Regions from separate parts of the Homo sapiens genome. Here all the other regions are linked to region 2. Evidence: promoter capture Hi-C in 16 types of primary human blood cells and fetal thymus (Javierre and others, 2016). All regions are on one chromosome and are shown on one strand. Each heading gives the region's core, a stretch centred on a gene start or on the middle of the fragment in contact. The rest is flanking DNA. Distances are from core to core; before and after follow the strand shown.

Region 1 (3,797 bases), core at 867-3,366, 1.0 Mb before region 2:
ATCTCACTATAGCCTCGAGCTCCTGGGCTCTAGCAATCCTCCCACCTCAGCCTCTTGAGTAGCTGGAAATCCAGGTGCACACCACCATGTCCAGCTAATGTTTTTTGTTTTGTTTTGTTTTGTTTGTAGAAACAGGGTCTTGCTGTGTTGCCCAGGCTGGTCTCAAATTCCTGGACTCAAGCAATTCTCACCCCTTGGCCTACAGAAGCAGTGGGATTATAGACATGAGCTATTGTGCCTGGCCCCTGGGCCAATGTCTTTAAAAAGAAAACTGCATGTCCAGCCTCTCCCGGCCGAAAAGTTGTGAACTGCGTGTCACAACTTCTGCTGTGTGAGGACCACACTCTGGACAGGATAGAGCCACAGAACAGACAGAACCCGCACCAGGCTGACTGGGGAGCAGAGCAGCCTGCGGCCCTAGACTAATTGCTGCCTGAGGACTGTTCCATGAGAGAGAAAAGTCTATCTTCTCTTTTTTTTTTTTTTTTGAGATGGAGTCTCACTCTGTTGCCCAGGCTGAAGTGCAGTGGCGTGATCTCGGCTCACTGCAACCTCTGCCTCCCGGGTTCAAGCAATTCTCCTGTCTCAGCCTCCAGAGTGGCTGGGATTACAGGCTCGTGCCACCACACCCAGCTGATTTTTGTATTTTTAGTAGACATGGGGTTTCACCATGTTGGCCAGGCTGGTATCGAACTCCTGACCTCAGGTGGTCCGCCTGCCTCAGCCTCCCAAAGTGCTGGAATTACAGGCGTGAGCCACCGTGCCCAGCCTAAAAGTCTATCTTCTTTATCAGACTGTGTCACTGGGCCCCTTTGTAACAGCAGCCTCATCTCCACCCTCACATTACAACCTCCTCTGGGGGATTTCAGCATCTAAGCTTCCTTAGATGAAGGTATGGGAAGAACCTGCCTTAAATTTCGTTCTACATTCTTCTGAACAGGATTACATGAAAGTTCCTTCAAAGATGGAAGCATTTTTAAAAATGATAAATCTACACAGGTTGAGCATCCCTAATCCAACAATCTAAAATCCAAAACGTTTTGCTTGTCAACATGACACCACAGTGGAAAATTCCACACCTAATTTCATGTGGCCAGTCACAGTCAAAACACAGTCAAAACTTTGTTTCATGCACAAAATTATTACAACTGCTGTTTAAAATTACCTTCAGGCTATGTGTAGAAGGTGTATATGAAACATAATGAATCTCATGTTTAGACTTGGGTCCCATCCCCAAGCTATCTCATTATGTATATGCAAATATTCCAAAATCTAAAATCTGAAACACTTCTGGTCCTAAGCATTTTGGATAAGGAACACTCTACCTGTATCTCAATGATGTCTTTTCTCAGGGCAGAAAATTCCCGAACCAAAAGACTCAAGCCTGCCCCGTGGATGATGTCCTAATTATCCTAAAAACAGGACTGAGACTACCCTTCCTTCTGCCGTAATGACTTGAGCTGTGATACTGACTTTCTAGAAATTAGGCAGTTGCATTTTTAAAGATGACTGATGTGGACAAAAACGTTGAAGAAGGAGGGAGTCAATATTTAGATTTCACAAAGGCCAAGTAGAATGGATTTACATATTGATGAAGGTTATTATTTTCTTTGGGGAGATTTCCTTGAAATAATATGATTGTATAACTCCAATATTTGCCCAATTCTAAGGATAAATAATAACAATAATAAATAATAACTGACCCAAATCCTATAAGTGAATTAATCATTGTTCTTTGGCTTCAACACTAACTGGTGCTAGTGACGATTTCTAGCACACACACAAAATATTTTTAGAAATTGTTTTCTTATGGGCTCAATTAGTCAAGTTATTTTGTTGTATTATTTTATAGAACTATGACAAGCAAGAGCGAGTTTATCCTTACCGGTCTTCCCTGTACCTCATCATGTATGATATAGGAATATCTTATGTGTTTTCTGTTTCCTTTGGCCAAGGCATAGACACTGAGCAGAATATATTTGTTTTACATTATTTTCTGAACAAATGATAAATCACTGCTACAGACTGACTGTTTATATCCCCCCAAAATTCATAGGTTAAAACCTAAACTCCAATGTGAGAATATTAAGAAGTGGGGCCTTTGGGAGGTGATTAGGTCATGAGGGTTCTTCCTGGGGTCAGCGCCCTTATAAAAGAGACCCCAGACAGCTCCCTCTCCCTTCTTCTGCCAAATGAGGACACAGGGAGAAGACATCCAGGAGGTCAGCCTTCACCAGATGTGGAATCTGCTGGTCCCTTAATCATGGGGACCTCCATCCTCCAGAACTTCCAGAAATAAATGACTGGTTTATAAACCACCCAGGCAATTATATCCTTATAGTAGCCTTAACAGACTAAGATAATCACTGACTCCTAACCTAAGCATCCATCTCAGATCTCATAGAACCACAGAAATTTTTAGCTGGAAAGGACCTTTGCCAAAGATCACTGGGTCGAATATCATTCTTTTTGGAAGAAGGTTTACTCAGGCACCAAAGTGCACAACTAGGATTCATAACCCTTGCAAGGAAGGTATGAAGGTATGAATTCTGGAGTTTCCCCCCAGCCCCAAAAGATATGCCCACTTGGTATGTATAATAGAGATATGACTTCTCCCCAAAATTCACCTCATTTTAAAAGGCACTGTAAATTGTTTTATAAAGCAAATACATACAAATAGTCTTGTACTTTGTTTTAAAAGTTTTTGGTTTTCATTTTTTTTTTTTTTTTTTTGAGACGGAGTCTCACCGTGTCACCCAGGCTGGAGTGCAGTGGTGCGATCTTCGCTCACTGCAACCTCTGCCTCTGGGGTTCAAGCGATTCTCCTGCTTCAGCCTCCCGAGTAGCTGGGATTACATGCATGTGCCACCATGCCCAGCTAATTTTTGTATTTTTAGTAGAGAGGGGGTTTCACCATGTTGGACAGGCTGGTCTCGAACTCCTGACCTCGTGATCCGCCCGCCTCGGCCTCCCAAAGTGCTGGGATTACAGGCGTGAGCCACCGTGGCTGGCCTTTAAAAATATTTTTATAGCCTAGGCAACATAGTGAGACCCCATCCCTTCAAAAACAAAAACAAAAAAAAATTAGCCTGGTGTGGCAATGCACACCTGTAGTCCTAGCTACTTGGGAGGCCAAGATGGGAGGATCATTTGAGCCCAGGAATTCAAGGTTGCAGTGAGCTGTGATGCTACCACTGCACTTCAGCCTGGGCTATAGAGTGAGACTCTGTCTCAAAACAATAATAAAAAATGTATTTTTAAATACCTTTAGTGTTTAAGGCAAAATAATACATATGTTCATTCATTCATTCATTCATTCATTCATTCCACAAATTTGACAAATGACCAAGCTTTGCCAGCCTCTGCTGAACACTGTGTTGAACAAAAGAGACCCAGTTCCTGCCCTCATAGAACTTGCATATTAGTGAGCTTAGTAAGCCAACAAATAAATATGTAATATATAAATTGTCATGTATGAAATATAAGAACTGCAGGGGGCTCTGAGAATGGCTGGTGGACGGCATCGGTGGAGATGTCAAGGGAGGTTGCTCTGAAGGAGTGACAGACTGAAGCCTCAGGGATAGGCAGAAGCTGCCTGGGTGAAGTGTAGGGTAACAGCGTTCCTTCATCAAGACACTAAGGACAGAAGCAGCCTCCAGTTTTGAGTAAGCGTGGTTGAAGAGCAGCTGCTGGAGGGAGGAGAGGGGCTTAGGCTGGTGAAGTGGGAGAGGCACAAGGCATGACAGCCTAGAAGACCATGTTAAGCATCCTTGTCTCTGAAAAAGTGAATTTTTGAC
Region 2 (3,794 bases), core at 411-2,910:
GTCTCTAAATCTATATACACATTTATTAATCACCACCCATGGCATCATCTTGGACTACTAAGTGAAGTTCTAAATTTACATATATATGTGTGTGTGTGTATTCTCTTTCCCGTGGTTACTGACATAAAAAGCTCCATCTGAAAAGGCTCCCCTATTCAAGGAAATATAAATAGAGATGTTCAGCAGAATCTGCTAGGAAAGCAATGACCAGGAAAGGGAGCTATTTAACAGGAAGTTGCCGGCTTCTCCCTGTCTCTGCCTTACCTGTAATATACCCCAATATGTCCCTCTTCTATCTTGTGCACAGCTGAGAAGAGAGATGCACAAAAGAAACTGGAAGCCACAGCCACAACTGCTCCCAACTGAGCCATCAGTGAGCCTTTATCCTAGGGAAAAGACACGGGAAAATGTGTGTGGTCCAACGTGCAGGAGAAAAGGCCACAACAGCGAGAGGACCTCACCAAGCTGAGCTCCCTGCGAGTGACTCATATCCAGCCTGGTGTCGTGTGAACACAAGGCTAGATCTACAACTCGCTTCCTCCTCGTTCTCAGTCAACGTTCCCCTTTCTTTAACTGTAAAATTAGAGCCCCCACCGCACTGAGGAAGCACTGGCTCCGGATACAGCCGTTGCTCAAGGGAGAACCCGTGCCAGCTGGGTAGGGTTCAGAACACAGCCTTGTCTTCCTGTGAACACGAATGTGCTGTCACTGAACCTTTCCTACCAGTAGTAGGGAAGAGAGGCAGCTGCAGTACTTTGGCCCAAATTACAGAGGATGCCAAATGACAGGCAGTTGTGGCTATGTAATTCTGGTCAGAGTCTCCCACTCCTAATTGCCTGCAGTTTCAAAGGAAACCATTATTTACTCCTTTCAGATGCTGGAGTGGCAGAGCCAGCAGGCGAGCAGAGTTTCAAGGTAGGATTCGTTGGCCTCGCATCCACCTTCCCAGTTATTCCTTTGGCCCTAAACAGGACAGGGCTCTGAACAAGCCTGAAGCCACACTCCCCCCCATATACTTTGGCACTTTGCACCTGACAGATCCCCAAGCCCGTGGTCAGAGAGAAAGGCAATGTCCCAAACTGCGAGCCTCTAGGCTCCTAGGTCCAACCGCGTTCAGGCACCAGGACGCGGAGGAGTGGGATCCTGAACGCTGAATGATCTGGAACTATGGTGACTGACTGCAAAGTTCAGCTGTGCGTGCGTGGGCCCGTGAGCGCAGGGCGTGGATTCTGCCTCCCAGGTCTAACGTAACCGGGGCGCGGACATCTGCGAGGCGCTTATTTTACCGTGGCGGCCTCCGGCTACCGATCTGCAGTTGCGTCCTTTCCTGCCAGTGCCCTTCCCTCCCCGAGGTCACTCGCGCCCCTTCCCCGCCCCGTTCCGAGAGAGGGTCAAGCGCCCTGGTCTGGGGCTGCGGCTCCAATAGCCTCCGCTCGGTCCCCCTGCGGCTCGCAAGGAGAGGACGCGACAGAAAAGGGTTTCTGTCTCTCTCCAGGAGCGGGCCGGCTGAGGGAGAGAAGCTGCTGGGACTGAGGTTCCCGAAAGTGACGGGTCAGCCCCGACCCTGAGCGGCAGCTAGGCCCAGCGCGCGCACGAAGGGGCGGGGGCCGCGTACCAGGCTGTCCCTGCAGGCGCTCCGTACTCGTCCGAGCCCACGAGCAAGAAAACCGTCACACCCCTCAGCACGCGACTTCCTTCCGGGCCGTCGCTTCGATGACGCCATCAATTCACGCGAGAAGACCACACCCCCGCCCCGCGCTCGCTCTGCGCCCCGCCCCTCGCGCTCCCAGCGGTCAATGGCCGTAGCTGGCCGCCAGGGATCGCCCGCGACTTGGTCGGTGCGGTCCTGGACCTCGGTCTTGGGTATCCGTCCTGGGGCTGGGGATGAGGGCGGTGTTGGTGGGAGCTCCCCGAGAGCGAGCGGCAGGACGCGCATGCCCCGGAGTACTGAGACCCAGGGCGAACCTTTCCAAGGCGTTGACTTTGGGGATTGCTCCGGATTTCCTTCTGCATTAGGCCGAACCTGGTTCGTTTTGGTTTTTTTAGAGACAAGGTCTCGCTCTTTTGCCCAGGCTGGAGTGCAGTGGCACGATCATAGCTCACTACAGCCTCGAACTCCTGGGCTTAAGCGATCCTCCCACCTCACCCTGCTGAGTAGCTGGGACCACAGGCGCACGCCACGACACTTGACAATTTTATTTTTAGTAAAGACAGGGTCTTGGTATTTCTGGTCTCAAACTCTGGCTTCAAGCAATCCTCCTGCCTCGGCCTCCCAAACTGCTGGGATTACAGGCATGAGCCACCATGCGCGGCCTTTTTTTTTTTCTCTCCTTGATAAGGTACTGGCGAGTTGCAACTGTTTGCTTTCCTATAGCACAGCTGAAATGAAACAGTCTTTTCAATGTACAGATTAGCATCATTACCTCACCAATCAAAAATCCCTACCTTGAGTTGTTCTTTATATTTTTCTGGGAGCTTTGGCCCTTGGGATCCTGCAACGCCACAAAGTATATTAACAAGGAATTATTATTCTAATTTTAATGAACGGAATCTAAGAAGTTCAGCGAGGTTCAAGGGTAAAAGCCAAGGAAAGTTTCCTTTGTGTTTCCTTAATATCTTGAGTTCACTGCTTTTTAAACTCCTGCCACAGTGCACAGGGGCTAGTGCACTTCGTCTTTCTAGATAAACTGTACGTTCCCGGGAGAGCAGAGACTGACTTTCCTTCCGCACCCCCGGGGCTTAGGTGCCCAGTAAAAACAGACTGAAGGCAACGTGGGACCAGGCCCGGAATCCAGAGTTTGTGTCTCCTAGTCTAAGGGCCTCACGTTGTCCTCCACCTGCCCTATTCACCAGCATCACATTGGGGCATTTCTAATTCAGCCACTGAGGTTATTAATATTTTGTTTGCAGGAGAGAAAGAGTCCACTTAATTATAGCCTTCAGTAAAAGAAAAACTTTTACACCGGGAAGATGGCAAGCTGGTGGTGTTAGACAGATTTAAGACTCAGGAAAAGGGAAGTGTGGTTTTTTCCAGGCATGCCTGCTTGGGATTGGCCCGTTTACCTTTCCTGCGTTTGCTCTGGGTGTTGGGATGTTTCAGCATTACATGGTGAAACCCATACGAGGGTTACATGGTGCTGTCTGGGAGCTCTGTGCCCATCTCCATAAATGAAGGCCTTTCATCTCCCTACTCTGTCCCTGCATCCCCCACCCCAAACAGACACAGCTGGCCAATCTCTCGATCAATCCTATCAGAACTTGAGTTTTTTCTCTCCCTGTTCAGTGATATAACCTCAGCTGGGCATGCTTATTTAATAGTTTATTTAATAATTGAGTAAGAAAAATGGAAATATTAGGGTTCATCAACCCATGAAATGGGGGCTAGCCTGCAGCATCAAGTATTTAAATTACTTGTAATTTAAGAATTTCCTTTAACCAACCTCTGGCAACCCGTCTCCCCTCCCCTTCCCACAAATATGTATATTATTATGTGTCAATTAAAAATAATAAAAACACAAAAATTTCCTCACATTAAACTTTGGAGTGAATTGTGGCTAGAAGTTTTGGGATTTTGTTCTTAGGAGTCATTTTACCAGACCTGAGTTATTTAGTTGTGGACGTGCCTAAAGGCAGGGGGATGGACTTCGTGATGTGCTAGTACATGATGATCTAGTACTTCTGAAAATCTCTTTCTTAAGAGACCTGTGATTTTTATGTTACCCAGCAGATACATTTGTGATGATTTGTTTAACAAAAATGTTTACAATTTCTTTTTCTCCTTCCTTCCTTCCTTC
Region 3 (4,020 bases), core at 666-3,165, 1.2 Mb before region 2:
CCATAGACAATTTGTAGAAAGCATGCTGTAATGTACAAACAGGGTCAAAGGATACTTAGGTGTAAAGGCAACATCCGGACTAATAACTCCCATGTACCAGCTTGGAGAACCAAATCCCTACAGGTTTGAGGAACAACCACACTGCTCTTTTCTCTGCCATTTGGACAAGTGCAAACAATTCATGTGTTTGCATTCATTCATTAATGCAATAAACATTTACTTAGCACCTGGTACATGTCATACGTTGGGCTGGCCATAATCTAGACTACAAGCTAGACCTCTGATAGTGCAAAAGTCATCTGCCTTCAGGCGGCACATGGTGAAGAGGGCTAATGTCTGAGATGATGATGATGCTTTCTAAAAGCTTACTCTGGCTTCTCAAAACAAGTGGGGGGCTTACAAGTCCTGTAAGCTCGCCAAAGACAGGGTCCAGCCCTCCAGAGGTAAAGGAAAAAGAAAAAATAAAGACAGGGGTTGTGTTTTGTTCATCACTGCCTTGCATGTATAATACATGTCAACTGAATGCAACTGAAATAGAAAGCAAAAACTTCTATTCTTTCAAGATCTTTTGCTTTGCTGTTTCGGAAGGCTTCGCAACCAAAGAAAAAAAATGACAAAAGAAGGGAAAATGGGACTTGGTCAGATAGATTAAGAACACCATTAGTGCAATCTTGGGACTTCAGCCCCAAGTGCATCTACAGCTCAGCCTTCAGAGCCCCCAGAGCCACAGCTGGCTTTCTGGTGGGGTGCTCTCCCCTCCCTCTTCTCTGCCGTTTACTGTCCTCTGAAAACCCCACTTGGAGCCCTAAAGAAAGAAAGGGGGCGGGCAGGAAGAAGGAATGAGAAGGGGAAGATACATCCTGAACCTGCGTTCACCAAGAAGGAAGGAAGCCAAACCCTAAGGCTAGGGCCTGGGGGCAGGGCTGGCCCCGGGGAGGAGATGTGAGGGTGCTCCGGCCGCAGCGGGCCCTGCGCCCCTCTCTGGGCGTGCAGGGACACTTTTCCCTTCTAAACGGCCTAGCTTCCCACCACCCCCCCCCACACCCTTCTTTTCTCTTTCTTTTTAAAAAAATTTTGGTGAAATCGTCTTTAGGACTGGAGGAGAAAAGGGAAGCGTGTAAGGTGAGGAAGAAGTTGGTGAGAGAGAGAACGACAGCTCCCCTCGAGGGCTCACCCAACCTGGCACCGAACCTGCATTTTAGGGCAGTCCTTTTCACTGTCTGGAGTTCCAGAAGCCCGAAGTCCAGGCTGCACCCAGAGGAAAGGACAGGAGTCCCTAGGGGAGCCTTCTAGGCCTGTCATTTAATAAGGTAGTCGGGGGAGTGAAAGAGGAGTCTCCATGGCCCAATCCGTACCCAAGGGACTTGCCTGGGGACGTTCTCTGCTCTCCTCCCCTCCCGCAGCCCGGGCAGTCGTTGCGGGGTCGGTGCCCCAGCGCCAGAACCCGCAGAGAAGTTTCGCTGCTGCAAACGTGAGAAAATGCAGCTCAGCAGAACTCCCGCCCCCACCCTCTCCGCGGCCCCACCCCCCGCAGCCCGACCCCTGGCGGCGGCGACCTTGGCCACCCGGGGCACTTGGAGGAGGGGCTGCCCTCGGGGCTCTCCCAGAGGGTTGGAGGAGGCCTCCAGGGTCTGCGGCCACCTCCCCTCGCCTGTCAGCCACTAGGACCGGCGTATTCAGCCCTGCGCGCGCGCCCCTCGCGCCCCTAGGCCGCCAGGCCTCCGCCGGGGCGCCCCCTGCACCCCCAGCCCCGCCAGCCCCCGCGCGCCCCTCTGCGCCTCTCCACTCCCGAGCCCGCGAGGGCGCCCAACTTACCCCCCCGTGCAGGGGCCGGGGCTCGGGCGGGGCGCGTTACATCGGGCGGGGTCGCCCCTCCGGCCGCCGGGTCCGCCGCGCTCCAGGGATTTCTGGGTCTGCCTGCCAAACTCTCCGCGCCTCTCGCTCCCCTCGCTCTGGTCTCCCCCAGTGCCCCCTCCTTCTCTCCCGTCCCTCGGCTCTTTTTTCCGGGTTAATTACGTTTCGCATTAAAGCAAAACCCAGCCCCGGATGTGAGTACAATGCTCCGCGGAGCCCGCCGGGGAGGGAGAGGGGTGCCGGGGCGCCGCGGGCTGGGAGGGGGTGCGGCCGGGCGCCGGGGCCGCGCGGGGGAGGCGGGGGCGGGGCGCCCGGAGGCTGCGCCCGAGGCCGCCCGCGTTCCGCGCCTGGCAGGTGGGACCTGCGCGCCGAGACTGCCCCGCGGGGAGGCCCGGCCCCGACGCTCGCTCGGGCAGCAGGTGTCCGGGCAGGGGGCGTCCTCGCAGGAGGAGGCGAGCTGGAGCGCGAGCTCCCTCAAGAACCCCATTTCCTCCTCCCAGAGCCCCACCCAGCGACCTCAGCTGGGCCTCCTTCGGATCCCGAGCCCTTAGCCTTTGGGGACCGAGGAGTTGGGGTAAGGGTTAGGGTCCCAAGAAGAGTGGCTTCTTCAGGTTGTCCTAAATGTGCCCTAAGAGACCAGTGGGCGGGAACGCTCTAACCAGGGTTATAAGGACTTTAATTTCTTTATTTTATTTTATTTTTTAATCAAGACAGGGTCTGGCTCTGTCGCCCAGGCTGGAGTGCGGTGGCGCAGTCATAGCTCACTGCAGCCTCGACCTCCTGGGTCCAGCGATCCTTCTGCCCCAGCCTCCCGAGTAGCTGGGACCACAGGCGCCTACACCGTGCCCGTTGGGACTTTTTCGGTGTGATGCGAAGACTCCCTTCCTGCCCCCAGAGCATGAGGGTGCTCTGGGAAAAAATGGGAAACAGACAAGCATGTGTTACTACGTAAACCTCGCCAAGAGGAACTAAGAGAGCTGCTGTGCGCGGGTCCCGCCCCTGCGCTATCTCATTTGATCCACGCCGCAACCTATGGGTACCAGTCCGGTTCACGGTGAGGAAACCGAGACTCAGACTTGTGAAGTAATTTGCCCTGGGTACCCAGTTAGTAAACGGCAGGTCTGTCAGGTTCTGACTCCGGCCTCCCACGTCGGGAGAGAGACATTTGAATATGCATCAAGTCAGGTGGACAACATCCGAAACATGAAAATGTAGAAGATTCGCGCGGGCCTGCGGGGCCGTGCGCCGGTGTCTGGCGATCCTAATGCAAACGTTGTTAATCAGGTGTAAATCCTACGAGGCTTTGAAAGAGGCAGGCATAAGAAGACGCTGAGGTTCTCCAGGACAAGGACTGGATTTGCAGGAAGGAGGGAGAGGCTGGGGCACATTCCCGGTGTTAACAGAGGAAAGGCGGCCTCTTATGTCTCCACGACCGACCGGAGGCCACAAGGCCTGGGGAGGGGGGCTCGGGCCGATGAGCCAGGACCGAGGGAGAAGGACAGCCCGCCCCACACACCCCGAAAGCACCAGTGATGAAACCACACAAGTTTCCTCTTCCATTTTGATTGCCAAAGCAAAAATGAACACCGCCGGTGTCTCAGGTGTGAAAAAAGACTGTTTGCTTTAGAGCATTTTGCTTTCAATGAGGAAGAAAAGGGGGACGATGGGCAAAACACACACACACACACACACACACACACACACACACACACACACACACATTTCCCTTGAAATAAATACATCAATGTCTTTTTTTTCCCCGTTCATGGAGGGTTTTGCCACTCATCTGTAAGTTTCAGGCACCAGAACAAACTGAAGAGCATCTCCTCTGGAAGCAAGGAACCTGGATTTGAAGCCCAGCTCTGCCGTTTACTGGCTTTGACCCCTGGGCAAGTTACTTAACTTCTCAATGCCTCTGTTAGGAAAAGTCAGTGAGTTAACATTTGTGAAGTGTTGAGATTCCTGTCGAACGTGAAGTAGGTGCTACGTAAATGTTTTTTAAATTTAAAAATTAGATGATCATTTTCAGTATGAAAAGCAACACAATTCCATCCAGCTCCAAGCAAATCCGACTGGAACTGAGGGTTTCCAGCATGAGCAATGAGGTAAATTTCTCAGATTTCAGGGTATGGTTCATATTAAACTCATAAAACTCTACTCCCCGTG

Evidence for each region. The method cuts DNA at HindIII sites, captures the fragments that hold promoters and counts their contacts. A CHiCAGO score of 5 or more calls a contact.
Region 1: a contact is called between a fragment that was not itself captured here and the fragment with the promoter of ERLIN2 in region 2, in 1 of 17 cell types (activated CD4 T cells). The highest score is 6.1, in activated CD4 T cells.
Region 3: the fragment with the promoter of PLEKHA2 here is called in contact with the fragment with the promoter of ERLIN2 in region 2 in 5 of 17 cell types (naive CD8 T cells, total CD4 T cells, naive CD4 T cells and 2 more); the score reaches 8.8 in naive CD8 T cells.

Annotation. Positions count from the first base shown.
Region 1 is chr8:38,773,947-38,777,743 of GRCh38, reverse strand. It overlaps a transcript of TACC1 not described here. Among named protein-coding and RNA genes, the nearest start is that of TACC1, 11 kb to the left of the region's middle. The HindIII fragment of the contact is 2,473 bases long and covers 880-3,352 here.
Region 2 is chr8:37,734,500-37,738,293 of GRCh38, reverse strand. It overlaps ERLIN2 (ER lipid raft associated 2), which reads right to left and starts at 1,660. Exons shown (of 12, transcript NM_007175.8): 1 at 1,616-1,660; 2 at 265-386. The coding sequence starts at 371. It overlaps LOC102723701 (a long non-coding RNA gene), which reads left to right and starts at 868. Exons shown (of 2, transcript NR_125821.1): 1 at 868-915; 2 at 1,496-3,533. RefSeq lists enhancers at 306-1,098, 1,578-1,787. The HindIII fragment of the contact is 8,102 bases long and covers 1-3,794 here.
Region 3 is chr8:38,899,241-38,903,260 of GRCh38, reverse strand. It overlaps PLEKHA2 (pleckstrin homology domain containing A2), which reads right to left and starts at 1,915. Exons shown (of 12, transcript NM_021623.2): 1 at 1,816-1,915. LOC124901937 (a long non-coding RNA gene) reads left to right here and starts at 1,816. Exons shown (of 2, transcript XR_007060893.1): 1 at 1,816-2,048; 2 at 2,565-4,011. RefSeq lists silencers at 1,244-1,913, 1,994-2,403 and enhancers at 3,004-3,253, 3,314-3,503. The HindIII fragment of the contact is 6,068 bases long and covers 367-4,020 here.